Linked DNA regions of Homo sapiens: region 2 is linked to region 1. Evidence: promoter capture Hi-C in 16 types of primary human blood cells and fetal thymus (Javierre and others, 2016). All regions are on one chromosome and are shown on one strand. The core of a region is centred on a gene start or on the middle of the fragment in contact, and the rest is flanking DNA. Distances in the headings are between cores, read along the strand shown. Region 1 holds the start of SMCO3 (single-pass membrane protein with coiled-coil domains 3). Region 2 has its middle 140 kb from the start of ATF7IP.

Evidence for each region. Contacts are between HindIII fragments. The CHiCAGO score rates a contact against its expected background, and 5 or more counts as called.
Region 2: a fragment that was not itself captured here is called in contact with the fragment with the promoter of SMCO3 in region 1 in 1 of 17 cell types (neutrophils); the score reaches 5.8 in neutrophils.

Annotation. Positions count from the first base shown.
Region 1 is chr12:14,812,202-14,818,614 of GRCh38, forward strand. SMCO3 (single-pass membrane protein with coiled-coil domains 3) reads right to left here and starts at 1,981. Exons shown (of 2, transcript NM_001013698.2): 1 at 1,925-1,981. All of the region lies in intron 1 of C12orf60 (chromosome 12 open reading frame 60), which reads left to right. The HindIII fragment of the contact is 14,101 bases long and covers 490-6,413 here.
Region 2 is chr12:14,218,749-14,225,578 of GRCh38, forward strand. No RefSeq gene overlaps it. Among named protein-coding and RNA genes, the nearest start is that of ATF7IP, 140 kb to the right of the region's middle. RefSeq lists enhancers at 1,279-2,478, 2,320-2,619. The HindIII fragment of the contact is 1,958 bases long and covers 857-2,814 here.

The DNA of each region.
Region 1 (6,413 bases), core at 731-3,230:
TGGGAGGCCGAGGCGGGCGGATCACGAGGTCAGGAGATCGAAACCATCCTGGCTAACACGGTGAAACCCCGTCTCTACTAAAAATACAAAAAATTAGCCGGGCGCGGTGGCGGGCGCCTGTAGTCCCAGCTACTTGGGAGGCTGAGGCAGGAGAATGGCATGAGCCTGGGAGGCAGAGCTTGCAGTGAGCCGAGATTGTGCCACTGCACGCCGGCCTGGGTGACAGAGGGAGACTCCGTCTCAAAAAAAAAAAAAATTTTATTGGTTACGTATACTATTCCCTGTCTTTACCCTGGTTCAATAAATCTAAAATTGTTTCACTATCACTAATATTCTAATGAGCATTTTGATACCCACAGATTTTTTTTCCTCCATTATCTGGATTATTTCCTCAGCATAAGTACCTAGAAGAATTACATAATTAGTGGCATAAGTAATGGGAATTAAATTTTTATTACTTTTGATATGTATCGTAAATTGCATTCCAAAAGCTTTTACTGTGCTACCCCAAATAAATTTTTATAGCAGGATACTGGGTATCCTGCTATAAAATTTTTACAATTTTTATTTTAGATTCAGGAGGTACATACACAGGTTTGTTCCCTGACTATACTGTGTGTTGCTGAGGTTTACTGTGAATGATCCTGTCACCCAGATACTGAGCATAGTGCTGGTATATTTCCCAGTCAAAGATGGTCCTGTTTAAATATTGTTGATTTGGGAAGAGTAAGGTTAAATTTCAAAAAGAGAAGTTCTTGCCTATTTGGAAATACATACTGAAAACATTTAAGATGAAATGAAATGGTCTCAGAGATTTGTTCACAAATAATCTGGAAAGAATAGTGGGGTAGGGTTATAGAGGAAAAAAGATTGGCCTTGTTTTGATAATTTTTAAAGCTGAGTTATGGGTACATGGGAGTTTATTATATTATTGTCTCTACTTCTGTGTATGTTTGAACTTTTCTTATAACAAATAAAAAAGAAAGAAAAAGAAAAACGTGACCCTGTCTAAACCTCTGATGTTTAGTCGTTAGTGCTCTCTGAGGTTTTACATTTCTTCTTGCTGTCACTTTTCTTCACTGTCCAAACAGGGTTTTGCCATCATGCACAGTTTCCTTATCTGGGAGTGTGGAAATAGGGTATAGGTAAAATCAGGAGCTTTTCAGAAGAAAATAACAGCTTCTAACTAGTTCTGAGTCTCCTTTAATTCAAATAAAAATCTGTGGCCTTTAATTAAAACAAAAATTGATCATGATGTGATGATATACTTTCTGATATAAATTCATTTAAAAAATGTTTCTGACCAGAAAGAAGAATATTAAAGTCATTCATCAGCATTTATCAAGTGCTCACTGGTGAAGCCTCTACTGTGTCCCTTGAGGCATTTGAAAACGACAATGTTCCTTGCCCTCAAGACGATAACAGCCTGTTTGGAGACACACAGCAAATGCTCAGAGATATTTAGATACAACATAATTTATGAAGGAGTATAAGTACTATACATTAACCAGTATTAGATTCCACATTCATTCTTTCATAGATAGGTACTGAGTGCCTATATTAATATTAATGACATAGAAGGAAATGTTACTATCCATGTAAACTTCACACATTCACACAGGTATCATTTCATCCTTAATCCTTCTTAGAATTGATGTCTTTACTGCTTCTCTTCCACTCTGACTTAATCAGTCCTAGAAATTGTTAATTTTCTTCCTTCTCTGCTGTCTTCAGAGAAGGCACCAGGAAAGGTTCCTTCCAAATCACAAGGAACATGTCATGGGATCCTCTTATAACAAAGCTGTTTTTTTACTTTATTTTATTTATGGTTAGGATTCAAGACTGACGGGCTAATTCAAATTCCTCCTACTACTGAGAAACAGAGTATTATATCAATACTAATAGAAATATCCACGTTGCTTACCTTGCTGTGTTTCTGAGTTCCGTGGTCCTAGCAGTTGTTTAGGAGTATTGTTAAAGTGCTTTTTCATCTGGTTTCATCTGGATATTTCTGATGGAATGTGATGACTTACAGACTTTGCTAGTCTCTGCTGGGTCCCTCTGCCTGTCTGGTTTATAGGCTATTTCTACATGGCTTGGCCCTCAGAATTCCTTCATTTCCTATTAATAAAAACTTAGTATACAGTATTAAGTTATATAAACTGGAAGACTAATAGTGTGTAAAACTTATTTTTAAATTTCTGTTCTTTAATGGACTTTTTATTGTTGAGAAGCGCTATATAACTGAGCTAATTCAATTTAGTAGAGAAGATGGCTCTTTGATTGCAGCTCTCAGATTTTGGGGTTTTATCTTGTCAACTATTCCAGATACTAAGTTTCTTTTAGCTTCTGTTGCATTTGCACCTCTAACTGTTGCTGATTATTTAAATTCTCAAGATATATAAATGCAGTTACTTGCATCCAATTTTTTTTTCTCTTCTTTCCAGCTAGGAGTTCTCCTCTTTGTCATTCTTTCTCTTCCTGTGTTTGTAAATTGTCTTGACAATATAAAAACCTTAAAGTCCAACTTCACTCTTTTCCCTGAAAGCTCAGATCAGTCTTCCCTGCTGCTTCTTCCCAGCTTCAGTCTTCAGACCCGTTAATTCCTCCACAGCAAAGACACCTGAGTGGCAGGGAAATCACTCAGCCCCAGTGTAACTTAGTGAAAGACAGCAGGCTTTACACTCAGACAGTCCTGGTTTTGTGTACTCCAAGTACCACTTACTAGTCATGTAATCCTAAGAAAGTCACTTAGCCTGAGTTTTCCCATTGGTGTAATATGAGTATTAGTTAATAATTTATGGATTAAATGGGATAGTGTTTATAAAGTAATTGGCATAGTGGCTGATATGTGGCAAAATCTTATGAAACGGTAGCTATTCATATATTAACAACAGTATCTCCTGGTGGAGGGGAGAGGAGAATGGGTGGGTACAGGATACAGAATCAAAATGCCAGACAGGCAGACAGGAAACTTTAAAATCTAAAGATGCTGCCCTGTGATTCTAAAGAAGGGCTAAGTGGGGTCACTTTTCTACTTTTGTCCCAGTGGATCATCTTGCCCTTGATGTATCCAGGGCCCCACCACGTACGGATGTGTGGCCAGTGTATCTGAACTAGGTATGGATGTTAAGTAGGATTTTAATAGATGTTTGGGGAGGATGGTGGTATAGAGGAAATAATACAGATAGAGGGAACACTGAGAGCAAAGGAGCTGAACCAAAAATTGTAGAACATTTTCAGGGAACAAAAACCAACCTGCTGGTGATACAGGGTGTAAGTGGGAGCAGTTAAGGGAAGGTAAGTCATGGAAAATTGAAAATAGTTTGTAGATAGCCTTAGATGTCATGCTAGGAAATTGTATTTCATTCTGTAGATAATAATGAACCATTAAAAAATCCTTTTAATTATGGTGTAATATTTGGAGATTTGGATTTCAGGAAGGGTACATTATGTAAACTTGATTAGTAGGTATGGACAATAAAGCATAAGTTACCAACCCCATTGCCTACAGTATGTGGACAAAATATGTCTGTCTTTTACCCTGTCTTAAAACAGTTGCATTTTGTTTCCGAAGAGGCTATTGTTGAAGAGTACCATTTAACCCACTTGTTCCTAAGGTGTTTGTTTCTCTCCTATTTCTACCCTTCTTAACATTTATTGCCTACTCATCCACTCCTTTCTCTCCTACCACATAGCAGCCTAAGTGGAGTTGCCAAAATTAAGGATAAACAGTAACAATGCAAAATAATTATCAGAGAAAAACTAGAAGCAATATTGACTTCATACTGAGCCCCCTAATCAACTTGAACTTCTTTTTTCTGCAATCAGTTTCTCAGGTTGAAAACTTGAACTTCTTAAATCTTTCTTGACTACTAAAGCCAGTATTAACGTCAAGTCAATAGTCAGAACTGAACCTTAGGAAGGAGGCACATTTTCTTAGTGTAGATCTTGGAGTCAGGGTGGTTTTAGGGAATCAGGAAGGCTGATTTGACAAGTTTCACTGCTGGATTGACAGTGGTGGGAAATGAGAGTGAAAGCAATAATATCTCCAAACTTATCTGCATGTAGCTCTCACTTGATCGTCTTTTATTTAGAATGCTTTATTTTCCCTTTTATCCTAAAGCTCATCCCCTTCTTTTCCTAAAATCTCTGCTCAAAAACCATATATTACATGACCCTGAATAAACTGCCCGATTCAATTACGATTGTTTCAACAATTTGCCAGCACTTATGAATGCTGCACTTAAAAAAAAATCAAGCAAACCTAAAAATAATCACCTTTTTGACCCAATAGCCTCCTTTATCTTTCTTCTTCACAGTTAGACTTCCCAGTTTGGTAGTGTACATGCATTGCCTCTACTTCATTTTCTCCATTAATTTTCCAGTATTTATAATCTAGCTTCTGTACATATTCCTGCCTCTTGCAAAATTGCTTTTCTAGCATTGTCAATGACATTGTAATGACTAAACATAAGAAATAATTTACAGTGTTTATCATACTTGCAGCATTTGAAATTGCTGATCAGGTCTTTATATTTTCTCTTTTTTTTTTTTTTTTGAGACAGAGTCTCACTCTGTCACCCAGGCTGGAGTGCAGTGGTGCCATCTTGGCTCACTGCATCCTCCGCCTCCCAGGTTCAAGCAATTCTCCTCCCTCAGCCTCCCGAGTAGCTGGGATTACAGGCGTGTGCCACACCCAGCTAATTTTTGTATTTTTTAGTAGAGACGGGGTTTTGCCATGTTGGGCAGGCTGGTCTCCAACTCCTGGCCTTAAGTGATCTGCCTACCTCAGTCTCCCAAAGTGTTGGGATTACACTAAAATAAAATACTTAAATATAAATCTAAGAATATATGAGCCACCATGCCCGGCCAATTTATCGTTTTTTCTTTAATGGATATGCTTTTGGTGTCATACATATCAAAGGACTAATCAGCTAACCAAAAGTTACAAGATTTTCTTCTGTATTTTCTTCTGTTTTATGGTTTTATATTTTTCATGTCCCATTTTGAGTTAATTTATGTATGTGTATGGTATGACATAAAATCAAGGTTTATGTTTTTGCATATGGGTATCAGGCTTTTCCAGCACCATTCATTGAAAAACCCTAAACTTTCTTTTTTTGTTGTTGTTCTTTCTTTGTTTTTTGTTTTTATTTATTTCTTCCAAAACAAAAGGGAGGATACATGTGCAGAATGTGCAGGTTTGTTACACAGGTATACATGTGCCATGGTGGTTTGCTGCACCTATTGACCCATCCTTTAAGTTCCCTCCCCTCGCCCCCCACTCCTCAACTGGCCCTGGTGTGTGTTGTTCCCTTCTCTGTGTTCATGTGTTCTTATTGTTCAACTCCCACTTATGAGTGAGAACACGTGGTGTTTGGTTTTCTGTTCCTGTGTTAGTTTGCTGAGGATGATGGCTTCTGGCTTCATCCATGTCCCTGCAAAGGACATGATCTCATTCCTTTTTATGGCTGCATGGTATTCCATGGTGTATATGTAACACATTTTCTTTATGCAGTCTATCATTGATGGGCATTTGGGTTGGTTCCATGTCTTTGCTGTTGTAAATAGTGCTGCAATAAACATACATGTGCATGTGTCTTCATAGTAGCATGATTTATAATCCTTTGGGTATATACCCAATAATGGGATTGATGGGTCAAATAGTATTTCTGGTTCTATATCCTTGAGGAATTGCCATACTATCTTCCACAATGATTGAACTAATTTACATTCCCACTAACAGGGTAAAAGCATTCCTATTTCTCCACACCCTTGCAAGCATCTGTTGTTTCCTGACTTTTTAATAATCTCCATTCTGACTGGCATGAGATGGTATCTCACTGTGGTTTTGATTTGCATTTCTCTGATGATCTGTGTTGTTGAGCTTTCTTTTTTATACATTTGTTGGTCGTGTAAAGATCTTCTTTTGAGAACTGTCTGTTCATATCCTTTGCCCATTTTTTGATAGGGTTGTAAATTTGTTTAAGTTCCTTGTAAATTCTAGATATTAGACCTTTATCATGTAGGTAGATTGCAAAAAATTTCTTTCATTCTGTAAGTTGCCTGTTCACTCTGATGATAATTTCTGTTGCTGCGCAGAAGCTCTTTAGTTTAATTAGATTCCATTTGTCAATTTTGGCTTTTGTTGCAATTGCTTTTGGCATTTTTGTCATGAAGTCTTTGCCCATGCCTATGTCCTGAATGGTATTGCCTAGGTTTTCTTCTAGGGTGAAAACACCTAAACTTTCTATGTTAAATTGCCTTTGCATCTTTGTTAAAAATCAGTTGACCGGCCAGGCACAGTGGCTTATGCCTGTAATCCCAGCACTTTGGGAGGCTGAGGCAGGCAGATCATGAGGTCAGGAGATGGAGACCATCCTGGCCAACTTGGTGAAACCTCTTCTCTA
Region 2 (6,830 bases), core at 586-3,085, 590 kb before region 1:
CCAACAAAGAAGAGGCCACCTTAGCTGCATCCCGGGAGTTTGGGGATCTCTGGTACCTAAGCCAGGTAAATGATAAAATGAGATCAGAAGAAAGGGAACAATTCCCTACAGGCCAACAGGCGGTTCCCAGTGTGGATCCCCACTGGGACCTCAGTTTGGAGCACAGCCATTTACTGACTTGTATACTAGAGGGATTAAGAAAGACCAGAAAAAAGCCAATGAATTACATAATGATGTCAACCACAATGAAGGGAAAGGAAGAAAACCCTACAGCATTTTTAGAGAGACTAAGAGAGGCATTAAGAAAGCATACCTCCTTGTCACCTGACTCTATTGAAGGCCAACTAATTTTAAAGGATAAGTTTATCACTCAGTCAGCTGCAGACATTAGAAAAAACCTTCAAAAGTCTGCCCCAGGCCCCAAGAAAAATTTGGAAACTCTATTGAATTTGGCAACTTCAGTGTTTTATAATAGGGATCAGGAGGAGCAGGCTGAATGAGACAGAGGAGACAAGAAAAAGGCCGCCACCTTACTCATGGCCCCGCCTTAGTTATGGCCCTCAGGCAGACGAACTTCGGTGGCTCTGAAAGAAAGAAGGGCTGGGCAGGCAACCAGCCTAACAGGGCTTGTTATCAGTGCGGCTTACAGGGGCACTTCAAAAAGGACTGCCCAAACAAAAATAAGCCACCCCCTTGTCCATGTCCCTTGTGCCAGGGGGATCACTGGAAGGCACACTACCTCTGAGGGTGAAGGTCCTCTGGGCCAGAGGCCACTAACCTGATGGTCCAACAACAGGACTGAGGGTACCCATGGCAGGCGCCAGCCCGTGCCATCACCCTCACAGAGCCCCAGGTAAGCTTAACCATTAAGGGCCAGGAAACTAACTTCCTCCTGGACACTGGCACAGCCTTCTCAGTTTTAGTCTTCTGTCCCGGACAACTATCCTCCAGGTCTGTCACCATCAAAGGGGTCCTAGGACAGCCAGTCACTAGGTATTTCTCCCACCTTCTAAATTGTGACTGAGGAGCCTTATTTTTCTCACATGCCTTTCTTATCATGCCTGAGAGCTCTACTCCTTTACTAGGGAGGGACATATTAGCTAAAGGAGGGGCCATAATAAACTTGAATATAGAAGAAGAAATACCTGTTTGCTGCCCTCTACTCGTGGAGGGAGTTAATCCTGATGTCTGGGCAGAGGAAGGACAATACAGATGAGCAAAAAATGCTTGTCCAGTTCAAGTTAAATTAAAGGATCCTACCTCCTTTCCTTATCAAAGGCAGTACCCCCTCAGACCAGAAGCCCAACAAGGATTACAAAAGATCGTCAAAGACCTAAAAGCACAGGGATTAGTAAAACCATGCAACAGTCCATGCAACACTCGTATTCTAGGCATACAAAACCCCAACGGACAATGGAGGTTAGTGCAAGACCTCAGAATTATCAATGAGGCAGTTGTTCCTCTGTATCCAGTTGTACCTAATCCTTATACTCTACTCTCCTAGAAACCAGAGGAAGCAGAATGGTTTACAGTCCTAGATCTTAAGGACACTTTCTTCTGCATCCCTCTGCATCCTGACTCTCAATTTTTATTTGCCTTTAAAGATCCGTCAAACCCAGGGTCTCAGCTGACCTGGACTGTCCTACCATTCATTATAGGAGCTGGGATACGAGGAGGACTAGGAACCGGCATTGGAGGCATTACAACCTCCATCCAATTCTATTACAAATTATCACAAGAGTTAAATGATGACATGGCATGAATCGCAGATTCGCTGGTCACCTTACAAAGCCAGCTTAATTCTTTAGCAACAGTAGCCCTTCAAAATCGGACAGCCTTAGATTTATTAACAGCTGAAAGAGGTGGAACCTCTTTTTCTAGAAGAGTGCTGCTATTTCGTTAATCAATCCAGAATTGTCACCAAGAAGGTTAAGGAGTTTTGAGATGGGATACAGTGCTGGGCACAAGAGCTCCAAGACACAGGACCTTGGAATATTGTCAATCAATGGATGCCCTGGCTTCTCCCCTTCTTGGGGCCCTTGGTGGCTATTGTGATGTTGCTTATCTTTGGACCCTGCATTTTTAACCTCCTTGTAAAATTTGCCTCTTCCAGAATAGAATCCATGAAGCTGCAAATGGTTCTACAAATGGAGCCCCAAGTGACCACCACTAGCACCTACTATCAAGCACCCCTAGACCCACCCACCAACCTGTTCTCACACCACGACACCAAAGACTCCCCTCCTGAGGAAACCTCAACTGCAGTGCCCCTTCTACCCCCCAGTTCAGCAGGAAGTAGCTAGAACAATCGTCATCCAACTTCCCAACAGCACTTGGGCTTTCCTGTTGAAAGGGGGGACTGAGGGACTAAGTGGCTAAATTGGCTGGACTTCCTGGGTCAATAGGGACTTCCCTAAAGTGACTTTCCCCTAAGCCAAAATGAGTCATAGCTGCAAGCTAAGAGATTAAAACTTCAACCAATCAAAGGGGATTTTCCCCTAAGCCAAAATTAGTCATAGCTGCAAGCTAAAGGGATTGAAACTTCAACCAATCAAAGGGGACTTTCCCCTAAGCCAAAATGAGTCACAGCTACAAACTAAGGGATTGAAACTTCAACCAATCATATAGGGAGTTCAAGCTCTAGCTGCAGCCTGATGTTTTTAACCAATCAGGTCTGCCAACCCACAAGTGGATAGAAAATTAGCCAATCCTATAGGACAGAAAAAGAAAAGGGGAGGAGTCATAAGGGGATATAAGCATAAGACACCCAAGCCAAAAAACACAATCCTTCTGGGTCCCCTTCCACCACATGGAAGCTTTACTTTTGCGTTCCCTTTACTTTCCCTTTCGCTTTACTAAATCTTGCTGCCATAAAAAAAAAAAAAGAATCCCAGCCTGGTACAGTGACTCACACCAAGGAAGGCAGATCGATTGAGACAAGGAGTTCAAGACCAGTGTGGGCAACATGGCAAAACCCCATCTCTACAAAAAATACAAAAAAAAAAAAAATAGCTGGGAGTGGTGGTAGGTGCCTGTAGTCCTAGCTACTCAGGAGGCTGAGGTGGGAGGATCACTTGAGCCCAGGAGGTTGCAGTGAGCCGGGTTCATTCCACTGCATTCCAGCCTGGGCAACACAGCCATATCTTGGCTCAAAAAAAAAAAAAAAAAAAAAAACAAAAAAAAACAGAAGGCTATAATCTCAAGCACTTTGGGAGGCCAAGGCAGGCAATCACAAGGTCAGGAGATCAAGACCATCCTGGCTAACATGGTGAAACCCCGTCTCTGCTAAAAATACAAAAAGTTAGCTGGGCGTGGTGGCGGGCGTCTGTAGTCCCAGCTACTCGGAAGGCTGAGGCAGGAGAATGGCATGAACCCGGGAGGCGGAGCTTTCAGCCAGCCGAGATTGCACTACTGCACTCCTGCCTGGGTGACAGAGCAAGACTCCGTCAAAAAAAATAAAAGAAAAGAAAAAAGAAAAAAGGGCAGGGCGTGGTGGTTCACGCCTGTAATCCCAGCACTTTGGAAGGCCGAGGTGGGCAGATCACTTGAGGTCAGGAGTTCAAGACCAGCCTGGCCAACATGGTGAAACCCCATCTCTACTAAAAATACAAAAAAATTAGCTGGGCACAGTGGCAGGCCCCTGTAATCCCAGCTACTCAGGAGGCTGAGGCAGCAGAATCGCTTGAACCCAGGAGGCCAAGGTTGAAGTGAGCCAAGATTGCGCCGCTGCACTTCAGCCTGGGCAACAGAGCGAGACTCTGTCTCAAGAAAGAAAAGAAAAAAAAATCCCAGATGAATTTTCTTTTTTTTTTTTTTTTTTTTTGAGACAGTATCCCTGCCTCCCAGGCTGGAGTGCAGTGGCGCAATCTCAGCTCACTGCAAGCTCCGCCTTCCAGGTTCATGCCATTCTCCTGCCTCAGCCTCCCGAGTAGCTGGGATTACAGGTGCCCGCCACCATGTCCAGCTAATTTTTTGTATTTTTAGTAGAGATGGGGTTTAAACGTGTTAGCTAGTGTGGTCTCGATCTCCTGACCTCGTGATCCACTCGCCTTGGCCTCCCAAAGTGCTGGGATTACAGGCGTGAGCCACCACGCCTGACCCTAGCTTAATTTTCTTAAAAGGAAGCTGAATTGGCAGAGTTGTCCCACAGTGGACTAAAACAGCCAGGCCTTTATACCTCCACCTTGATCACTGGATGTAGGCTGTCCTGGTAAGGGTGCCCCACCTTAGTCACACAGGAAGCTGATGCAGTCCCTGAAGACACTGCTAGCTGAAGGCTTTCCCCTCGTAGCACTCCCAGTAGTTGGGAAAACAATTCCTTCACTGAAGTAGGGTCTGGACACCATACTTGGTATGTCTTCACAAAATATTTTTGTTTTTTTGTTTTTTTGAGACAGAGTCGCTCTGTCGCCCAAGCTGGAGTGCAGTGGCGTGATCTCGGCTCACTGCAAGCTCCGCCTCCCAGGTTCACGCCATTCTCCTGCCTCAGCCTCCCTACTAGCTGGGACTATAGGTGCCCGCCACCACGTCTGGCTAATTTTTTTTTATTTTTAGTAGAGACGGGGTTTCACCGTGTTAGCCAGGATAGTCTCAATCTCCTGACCTCATGATACACTCGCCTCGGCCTCCCAAAGTGCTGGGATTACAGGCGTGAGCCACCACGCCCAGCCCTTCCTCTATCTTAATAACACAGTGGTTAAACGCAACAGTACTGAATTGTCTAGTTAGTTTAATGTTATGTATTTCATACACTATTAACACTAGTATGGGAAGCATTTATAAAAATCATGTACCATTAATTAATTTTCTTTCACTTAAAAGTTAAAGCTTTGAGGATTCTGTTTGAAAATATATGTAAAATGATAAAGACCAAATGTGTGTTAATTCAAATATTTAATTAAAGAATAAAATAAGAATAATGAGCTATTTGAAATTGTTGTGAAATTGGTGTAGTGACTTTTGATTCAAACATTTAAATCTGCTGAGGTTAGTTTTGGTACAACTATTCTCAGGATTACATTTATAGACCCTCATCTAGTTAAATTTAGTTTTCTGACTTTAACAGTGATTCAGGCCAGAGACAGTGGCTCACTTCTATAATCCCAGCACTTTGGGAGGCTGAGGCAGGAGAATCACTTGAGACCAGGAGTTTGAGACAAGTCTGGGCAACATAGACCTCATATCTACAAAAAGTTGGGTTTTGTTTTGTTTTTTGAGACAGGGTTTCCACTCTGCCTGCCCAGGCTGGAGTGCAGTGGTACAGTCTCAACTCACTGCAACCTCCGCCTCCTGGGCTCAAGCAATCCTGCCGCCTCAGCCCCCCAAGTAGCTGGGATTACAGGCACGAGCCACCATTTCTGGCTAATTTTTGGATTTTTTGTAGAGATGGGGTTTCACCATGTTGCCCAGGATGATCTCAAACTCCTGAGATCAAGCGACCCACCGACCTCGGCCTCCCAAAGTGCTGGGATTACAGGCTTGAGCCACCACAGCTGGCTTCTACAAAAAGTTTAAAAATAAAAGTGATTCACATAAAAAACAAACTAGATTTTTTTTTTTTTTGAGGCGAAGTTTTGCTCTTGTTGCCCAGGCAGGAGTGCAATGGCGTGATCTCGGCTCACCGTAACCTCTGCCTCCCAGGTTCAAGTGATTCTCCTGCCTCAGCCTCCTGAGTAGCTAGGATTACAGGCATGCACCACCACACCCAGCTAATTTTGTATTTTTAGCAGAGTCGAGGTTTCTCCATGTTGGTCAGGCTGGTCTCGAACTCCCGACCTCAGGTGATCCACCCGCCTCCCAAAGTGCTGGGATTACAGGCGTGAGCCATGGCGCCCCGCCCAAACTAGATTTTTTTTATGACTGTAAAGGAATATATGTTCATTGCAAGAAATGAAATATTTAAAAGTACAAAAGTAAAAAATATTAAACATAATTCCATGACCAAATAAAAACTTTTTTTTTTTTTAGAACAGGATCTCACTATATTGCCCAGGCAGGTCTCGAACTCTTGAGCTCAAGCTATCCTCCTGCCTCTGCCTCCCTAAGAGCTGGGATTACAAGTGTGAGCCACCACTCCTGGCCAATAAAAACCATTTTAATAGTGTAATATATACGTTAGTTATATATATATGCATAAAAACATATATATGTAAATCACCATTATACTCTACATAATTATTTCTAACTAATTGTATTTTATTATACTTTAAAATTCTTTGGAGGAATAGCAGAGATTAGTGTTACTATCAAAAACTTGAGATTCTAAGGTAGTGATTCCTATTACATTACCATTTAACTTGCTTATATGACATGTCAGAAGGCAGAGGTATCATGGAGACTGACTATAGATTATCATAAAATAAATTAGGTGGTGAGTTCAGTTGCAGCTACTGTTTCAGATATGGTTTCTTTAGTGGAGTGAATCAATACAGCCTGTGGCGTCTATTCTGCAGTGTTATATGTTTATTTCTGTAATAACAATGTGTAAGGATCACAGGAACAGTTTGCCTTCACCTGGTAGAGTCAGCAGTATACTTTCATGGTCTTTCCTTAGGTGTCAATGTCAATTTTCTTGTTTTCTGCCATAATCTAACCCAAGTATAAGAAAATTGCAACCCACAGACCAAATTCATCCTGATACATTTTTGTATAGTCCGTAAGCTAAGAATCGTCTTCATATTTTTAAACGGTTGACAAAAATTAAATGATGAATTTATCTAAAGATAAATAAGAATTAAATGAAATTCTAATTTCTCTGACTAGTGTAATAAAAGATATTTAAAAATAAATAAATAATAAAATAATAAATGAAGTGTTGGTAGAACACAGCC